3 separate regions of the Homo sapiens genome follow, and all the other regions are linked to region 1. The links are contacts of gene promoters, found by promoter capture Hi-C in blood cells and fetal thymus (Javierre and others, 2016). All regions are on one chromosome and are shown on one strand. The core of a region is centred on a gene start or on the middle of the fragment in contact, and the rest is flanking DNA. Distances in the headings are between cores, read along the strand shown.

What was found. Contacts are between HindIII fragments. The CHiCAGO score rates a contact against its expected background, and 5 or more counts as called.
Region 2: a contact is called between a fragment that was not itself captured here and the fragment with the promoter of CPVL in region 1, in 1 of 17 cell types (total CD8 T cells). The highest score is 6.2, in total CD8 T cells.
Region 3: a fragment that was not itself captured here is called in contact with the fragment with the promoter of CPVL in region 1 in 5 of 17 cell types (total CD8 T cells, endothelial precursors, M1 macrophages and 2 more); the score reaches 7.6 in total CD8 T cells.

What each region holds. Positions count from the first base shown.
Region 1 is chr7:29,144,985-29,147,786 of GRCh38, forward strand. CPVL (carboxypeptidase vitellogenic like) reads right to left here and starts at 1,553. Exons shown (of 13, transcript NM_031311.5): 1 at 1,445-1,553. It also overlaps a transcript of CHN2 not described here. The HindIII fragment of the contact is 3,879 bases long and covers 1-2,802 here.
Region 2 is chr7:29,428,419-29,431,220 of GRCh38, forward strand. The region is part of intron 6 of CHN2 (chimerin 2); the gene reads left to right. Among named protein-coding and RNA genes, the nearest start is that of PRR15-DT, 130 kb to the right of the region's middle. The HindIII fragment of the contact is 215 bases long and covers 1,258-1,472 here.
Region 3 is chr7:29,411,501-29,414,302 of GRCh38, forward strand. The region is part of intron 6 of CHN2 (chimerin 2); the gene reads left to right. Among named protein-coding and RNA genes, the nearest start is that of PRR15-DT, 150 kb to the right of the region's middle. The HindIII fragment of the contact is 1,776 bases long and covers 537-2,312 here.

The sequences.
Region 1 (2,802 bases), core at 303-2,802:
AAACAACATCTGGTTAAGAACACTGACACTACATTATAAAGGGTTGCCCCTGTACTTAGACTAGCATGAGGTACACATCTAGAATGCCCAGTTAGCCAAACGGTCTTGACGACCATGCAGACTTTCATATGCCAACAAAGCCGGTGCAGTGTACTTTTCCAAAAGTGCTCCAATTCTCCTTTTGGACAACTTTCTTAAACGTTATTTACCAAGCTAATAAAATGTATTCTCAATGGACTTTTTACTCTGCTTACATCTTTGTTCTTACTCATCCCAAAGCAAAGAATGGAAAAAAAATGAGTTGTACATTTAGCCGGGGAAGGGAAAGGCAAGTACTGAGGGGCTCCTTTTTCATTTACTGATGCCAAAACTGAGGCTGTGGAAGATAAGTTACGTCCCTGATGTCATCCAAGTAGTGGATACCGGAACCAGGAATTGCACAGAATTGTCCAGCTCCAAAACCCAAGCACCTTGCTTGGGACCCACTGGGGTTGCAGTGAAGGTGGGGGGCTCAGAGGTGACTGCACACGGGTCATGCATAGCCACAGTCATTATATGGCCAGAGTTTTAAACATTATTTTGTTCTGTCTTCACCATAGACTTCATCATCAATCATAACTGATAAGGAAAATTACACTTAGCTGAAAAGCCAAGTCCCGTGCTAGGGAGGCATTTTCTGTATGTTATTTCTATTTCCAATAAAACAATTCTTTAAAAAGAAAAACTTATTATCTCCATCTTTCAGATGGAAAGACTGAGGTTTAGTAGGCTTAAATAATTTGCCCGAGGTCACTCACTAGCCAAGGCCAGAACTGGGATTTAAATCCACAAATATTCCAAAGTCCTTTTGTTTCTGTATCACTTCACAGGGAGCTGCTTCCACCTGTCTCCTGTGCCCTTGGTTTCTGCTAATCCTACATTCCAAGAATAAAAGTCTTCCTATGCGTTCCTAGGCAGAAGCCAAGTTTCCCTGCTTTGGGCACGTTCAAAATAGAAGGTATTTTCCGCTTCTCTTGCTTCTGAGCACCCACGAAATCAACACATCCCCAAAACACGCGTTGAGGGAGTAAGGGAAAGTGTCCTGCACCCGCCACCCTCCCGCGCTAAGAGCGGCAGAGGACCCCACAGCTTCGTACTTCCCCGGAGGAGCTCCTGGAGTAGGAGACGGCTTCTAGCCTGGAAGAACCCCGGGTGCGACAGTTGTGCCAGGAAACTTCAAGAGTATTCCCTCGGCTGGGCGCACGCAGTACATCCCCAATGCTCCAATTTGAACTTTGACTCGGCCACGACCACCCCACTCCAGTCTCACTCTACGGTGCTTTCTCCCCTGTTGGTGCTGAGGGCTTTTGAGACTACCTGCCCCGCGCTCCCTAAGTCCGAGGGACCGAGGCGAGGACCTGTCCCGCTGAGCTGGCACGACCCACGCAGGGCAGGCGGCACTTACGCGGCGCAGTCGGTGCTCCTCCCTGAGCCGCGGCGCGCAAGGACCCCAGCCGGTTGTCCTTGCAGCGCTTCCCAAATCAGGCAGAAGTGAGGCAGCCCCACCCAGTCACGAGGACCCTGCAGAACTCGAGCCTTTAAGCGCTCCTCTAGGCTCACATGACCCAGACCCACAGGGCAAAAAGTGCGTCGTCGTGTCCCAACCTCCTGGTCCCAGAAACCTGGCCGCATCAAGTCAGCGCTTCCCATGCTGGAAGAAGCAAGCAGCCCCAGGGTGGAATCTTAAAAATTAATGAAGAGCATCGGCGGGGTGCCATTCAGGTTGGTTTGTCCCTTTGTTTTATTTTGATTTTGTCTCCCAGTTTTTAAAAGCTGCTATCTTAAAATTTCAACCCTGTATTTTGAAATTATTTCTGCACTCTAGGACTTACTTGCAAGCCCAGGATTTACATTTGGAAAGCGAGTGGTGTTTGATTCCCACTGTTTAAAAAGGCAACACACGTTCGCTGATGGTCTACATTCCAGCTGCACTAGCAGTAAGCTCGCACCAAGTGCCACTGTCCTGCCAAGCACTCTCCTGAATCACTGCGCTGGAGTCTCAGAGCCACCTGATGTGTTCTGTACCATTATACCCATTTTGCAATTGGGGGACACAAACTAAGTGAGGTTAAGTAACCCATCCAGGGTCACATTGCTTGTAAGTGACCTGAGTGTATATTATTAGCCACCACCAGGTGCTGGGCATCGAGCCAGACAGTACGGGAGCAAGAACTAAAAAAGGCAAGGAGGTTGCAATGGCAAGTAGATAACACAAAATAAAGGAGGGTCATCATTATCAGCAACAGCAGCGTCAACTGCCAGACAGGTGGGAGAGGCCACGGGGAATCTTCTGCACTGTCCCGGGCCAACCTCCATCTCCTCACAGCTAGCTGCAGGAGTGAGCCCAGGGAAACCCGCAGTAGAGCAGCCCAGCCAACCCGACAGTCAGGGGGAAAAATTGTTTTAAGCCACTTTCAGTTTCGCGTAGTTTGTTATGCAACTAAGGCTAACTAAAGCACTAGTTTTACGAGCTGGAACAAACTAATGTCACTGAATATCTGTTTTCTCCTAAGTACCTACTTTATTGGGTTGTTGTGAGGACTCACTGAAAAACTATGTGTAAATCACCCAGCACAAAGTATGTGCTCAGTGACTGCAGTCATTCTTTGCTATCATACCTTCCATATGGAAGTACTTCCTACCCACCTAGCTCTTTAAGGAGAAAAATCTGTTTGTGGGAAAATAATTCTTTTAAGGCCAAAATCAGCCCACCTTTAATATATGCAGGACCCAGGGCAAAAGTACAAACAGAGATCTGTAGGC
Region 2 (2,802 bases), core at 115-2,614, 280 kb after region 1:
ACTCCTAACATCCTATGGCTCTCTCTCTAAATCACTGGCTCTCAAAGTAGATCCAAGAACCCTGGGTTCCCTGGGACCATTTCAAATTCAGACCATTTCCACAAGGCCCTCCTTTTCCAACTGTGTCTCTGCAAAAGCCTGGATTTTTTTTCATATTCTTCAACCAACACAACAAGTGAAATATAGGACCAGATGTGAGAATCCAACTGTCTTCTATCAAGTTAGATAACAAAGAGATTTGGAAAAACGTGACATAATGCTACTTTTGTCATTTTTTTGTTTGAGCCAATATGGTTAATTTTTATGTAAAAACTACTTATATTAGCACGTAGGGCCTATAAAATTTATATTTTTGTATTTTTAATGTATTAATATTCTGAAGTTTTCTTTGTAAGTATAAACTGATGCAACCCACAGAAGCAAAAGCTTTTTGGGGTCCTAAATAAAGAATATAAAGAGGTTCTGAGACCAGAGTTGAAGATGCAATGATGTAAATCCTGAGAGGCTTTTCTGGTCAGCTGGAAAATGAGTCTCTTTGGGCCGCACTGGGGAGGTTTCTATGGGCCAGTCCTGGAAGTAGCACATCATTTCCACTCGCATTTTCATTGAGTGGGGACTGTAACTGGCTACTGCTCAAGAGAAAGCAGAAATGGATGGGTCACCGCCTCCCAATCTTTACAGTAGTTGACTGTTTTCAAGGGTTTATTGCCTCTTGCCCTATGCATATCACAAGTATCTTGTTTAGTGTTCTCCAAGAGCAATAACATTTGGTTTCATATACTCAGACCACTTCAGAAAATTCCAGAATGAGCCTAGTTTTTGCCCTAGTCATTTGGAAGTTGGCAGACACTTATCTGAAATAGCTATGCATTTAACCAAGTAAGTAAAAGAAGAGATATCAGTCTTTTTAGAATCAGGTGGTATTGCAGTAAGAGTGAAATAGTCTATAAACATTTCTGATCTCCTTTGAAACTAACAGTAAGAGATGGTGGGAACTAAATTTAGAGACTCTTTTGTTTGTTTTGTTTTTGGTTCGCTTTGATATCTGATACCAATTATATAAAATCTACTTTATAAGTTGAGAAATTGATGACCTTTGACAAGAAACACACAGGTTGCCCATCTTACACTTTTTGGAACAAAGCATGAGTTACACACACACAGACACACACACACACCCATACTTCAAGGTTCAGTTCCCTGGAATATGTGTTCAAGGTTCAGTTCCCTGGAAAATGTGATTGAGTTTTATACTAAAGCTTTGAGAGCAGGACTTGAGTGGGTCCTAGTACAGACTTAGATAAAATTATAAGGTAGAAATTTGATTTTTATATTTGTTGTGACTAGATTAATTTTAGATGTTTATATTACATATAAATTTGGAAATGTATCTAACAATATGGTGTACTTTTGTGCTTTATATGGACTTTATTATATATAGGAACCTTGCGTAATTAGCGTATAGCTATTTAAGCTTCGTAGCTATATCTTCGATTTCATATGCTGTTTGTGTTATAATTAATTGGCAGTATAAGACCTCTGTAAAGAATAGAAGCACGCTGTTCCAAGGAGAAAAGGTAAATCCACTTTAGGATGCTCCCCTTTAGGAGGCCATTTCTACTGTACTTAGAAAGAAACACGCTTTGCATAGGATATATTGCTTAATATTTTCTTAGAGTTTAAAGGTAGCAAATCTTTGTTGAGTAACAGAGTCCAGCTAAAAGATTTAAACTGTGCAGGGCATTTGTTGTTTCCTGAACAGAAAGGCCAAGATATGGTGGTTTCAGGATGCGTTGGAGCTGATGGTTTTGTCATGGACCCAGGCTCTTTTCATTGCCCCTCTGCCAGCCCCACTACATGGCCTACCCCCTTGATTTGGTCAACAAGTGCACAGGAAGATTGCTGTTCCATCACAGGTGTTAAAAGCTTTAGACAAATTAAATTTAACGCAGTTTAGTTGAGCAAAGAATGATTCTAGAATCAGGCAGTCCCTAGAACCAGAATAGGTTCTGAGTGACTTGGGGCTGCCACGTGGTCAGATAACATTTATGGACAGCAAAAAGAAAGTGTTGCACAGAAAATGAAAGTGAGGTGCAGAAACAGCTGGATTGGTTACAGCTGGGCCGTGGCCTTTTTTGAGTCTGCTCTAAACAACTGGCCACATTTGGTTGGCTAAAGCTCAGCTACGAGAGTAGTTTACACATCAAAAAGTCTGTTTACGCATCAGAGTAGGTTACCATTCACTATGTATGGAGATGAGACACCTTTAGGCCAAACTTAAAATATGTACGAAGGCAGTTTTAGGCCAAGCTTAACTTAACAGAGGCATCACGTGACAATGTCCTAAGCAGAGGGTAAGAAAGATGATAGCAAAAAAAAAAAAAAAAAAAAAAGGGGACTTCTCCACTTCTCCATCCCTCCCTTTACAGGAGAAAGCCTCTCCCCAGCGGACTTTCCCTCACTGACCCCTGCTCTGTCCCATGCCCTCCTGTAAGCCAGTCATTGACAAAGTGAACAAGGAGCCATAATTGGCTTGGACTGTTCTTAGTCAATTCCTGGGATCCTTGCATGTTGCTGCCTAAGCCTAGTCAGGGTCCTGCTGGCGAGTAAGAAAGAGAGAGTAACTGGGGGGCAGAGAATCTGCCCCCAAGCCTAACCAGTAAGCGTACCTGGTATAGGGAACACCCACAACTCATAGAATATGATCAAAGTGCAACTGTCCAATTAAAACGCTTACATTTAGGGAAGTTTTGCCCCTGCTCCTGGGATAAATGCTCTGTTATGCCCCCTGACTTTTCTAGC
Region 3 (2,802 bases), core at 175-2,674, 270 kb after region 1:
ATATCTGCCCACTAATCCCAGAGGTGGATTTGTGATTCAAGGCCAAGCCGAAGGACCCCGTGTCCCTGGCTAGGGTGGTTGGTTCAAGGGTGACCATGTGGTCAAGTCAGAGCCAGGGGAAGACAACAGACTTTTACCGTGAGTTCCAGGAGCCAGGCCTTTCACCCTCTTTCTGCTTGGCTCAATTAGGCAGGAAGTAGAGCCTGGGCTGCTGAAGGCTTCCCGCCACCCGATAGAGCCTGAGAATGGAGCCTGGAGAAAGTAGAGCCTGGAGATGGGGAGAGAGAAGCTGAGTCCTGAGGCCTGATCTGAGCTTCTCGCGGAGCTGCCCTTCAGCCCGCCCCCGTCTCTGGATGTTCCAGTACTGCTGGCAGTTCATTGCTGCCTTGCCTTTGAGCTGGGTAAGCAGATGTTGGTGCTGCATTTAAGTCGGCAGCTGCTATCATCCCCACAAGAACTGGAACCCACCTGTCAGCTCCCTGCCACCTCTGCTGTCCTTCATTCCCACTCACCTTACTTGTCACCATTACTGAGGAAGCTTAGCTATTCAAGTTCAGGTTCATTTTAATTTTAATCCAATAATCCACACTACCCTTCTTTAAAATGGTGGTGTTAAATCAGAAAAAGGGGACCTCTAGTGTTTACTGAAATGGGTAGGAATGTAGCATCTTGTTTACCAGGCAGACATGGGAAATAACCCAGAAGCCACTGCTGGAATGCAGCCGTCATCCTTTACCTCCTGGCTCCACAACATATATATATGTAGACCTCTTACAGTTAAATGCATTTCAGTAAGATTAAGGCGCTCTGCTAAAGAGTCTTTTTTTTTTTTTTTTTTTTTTTTTTTTGGGAGACGGAGTCTCCCTCTGTTTCCAGGCTGGAGTGCAGTGGTGCCATCTTGGCTGACTGCAACCTTCATCTCCCGGGTTCAAGTGATTCTTCTACCTCAGCCTCCCAAGTAGCTGAGACTACGGGCTCACACCACCACACCCAGCTAATTTTTGTATTTTTAGTAGAGACAGGTTTCACCATGTTGGCCACAACGGTCTCAATCTCTTGACCTCGTGATCCGCCCACCTTGGCTTCCCAAAGTGCTGGGATTACAGGCGTGAGCCACCGCGCCAGGACACTAAAGAGTCTTAATGAACCTGGTAAACCAGATTCTCAGCAACTTGTGATATTTCCGGGAAACTTTTTTAACAGAATGGGATGAAACATGGCCCCTTTTGCAGCATTGGATGTGGCCACGAGAGCCCTCTGTTGGAAGGGGTATCTCTCAGATCATTGGTACAACAGATGAGCAGTTGGGAACCTGTAGACTCTGAAGAAGGAAAGGTCAAAGTTCCATTTGTAGTCTTTCAGAATTAAAGGCTTGGCCTATAAGAATTTGTAGGGGTGGGTGGGTGGGGTCCTGGATCAACTGTGGGAAGAAGAAGGATTTTGTTCCCTGAATAATTCCCATTGCCGTTAATGGAAATGAAACTGTCAGGGCTACATTGGTTTGTTTTCATGGCCTCTGGACCAGGTTGCAGAACTGGCATTACTCATTTTGCAATAAAAAAATGTCTGGCCGGGTCTTATGATGATAGTTTATAAATGCCCCTGTTGGTTTTCTCTCTCCTTATACACAATCACTTTGAAGTTCCCGCAAAGTTAATATTTCACTTTGTTCCTAAGTCCCCATTTATGAACTTAATGAAGTCCAAGTATCAGAAGAGAAAGTTAAAGTTTACACATGCAACTTTGATTGTTCTCAAGTGACTCATTGGTTTAAAAAATTATTTAAAAAGTCAAAGCACTGTCATTTGCAAGAGACACTTTAATACCCAAGTTGAGGATTAGAAGTAAGACACAGAACTGTGGGCTATGCGTGTCCCAACACACCTTTAACAGAGTAAAAGCAGTTATATTTTACCACAGTACATATAAATTCCATGAAAATAATTCATGATATAAGGGACTTTTATTATGTTAATCTCAAATGATTTTAGGAAAGTTACAATTACTCCCCCTAGAAAGAACATTACATGTATTAAGCATATCATTGTTTTTAATCTATCATAAACTACATTATTTCATTCTGCTTCATGACAACCCTTAACTTCATTGTTCCTCCTCTTCCAACAAAGAAACAAGAAACCCGGGGCTTGGGAAAGCCAGGCGATTTGCCCAGGGTCGTAGAACTTGTGACTTGCGGGTCATTTCACGAACAGCCAGTTGCTAGAAGGTGGCTCGTCTGACTTCGAACAGGCTGTACTTTCCACTGGACCACATTGACACAGTGAGCAGATTTGCTGTGTGTCTCATTTTAAAGCTTCTAAACAAAGCGTTATATTAGGAATTATTTTCCTCTTCCCAATATCGGTACTCAGTGTCCTTGTGGCTTGATTCTAATCGTCTTCTGCTCTGGACTGATTTGTTCTTATGAAGAAATAGGTGTGGCTGAGGGAATTCCTCGAGAAGAGATGTGTTCATTACACACATGCCTGCCTCTGTGATTTCTAAGAGAACAATCTCTGTGTGCATTTTTAGCCTTGAGCTATATGAATTTGAAAAGGATTGGGCAATACTATAAAGCTCTGTATACCTTTACTATATCGCAAGGTGATGAGTCTGAAATGTGAGTCTTCAGACACAAGCATGTGTCTCACTTCTTCCAGTCATGATGGAGTCAGTTCAGATGAGAGGAAACTGAAATTGATGTTACCCTCCTGAAGGTTAGGAAGTGATGCCTGACCCAGCTCTCTCTCAGTGTAGCTTTGAAACACCCCCGAACTCTGGGATTGTAAAATGATATACATG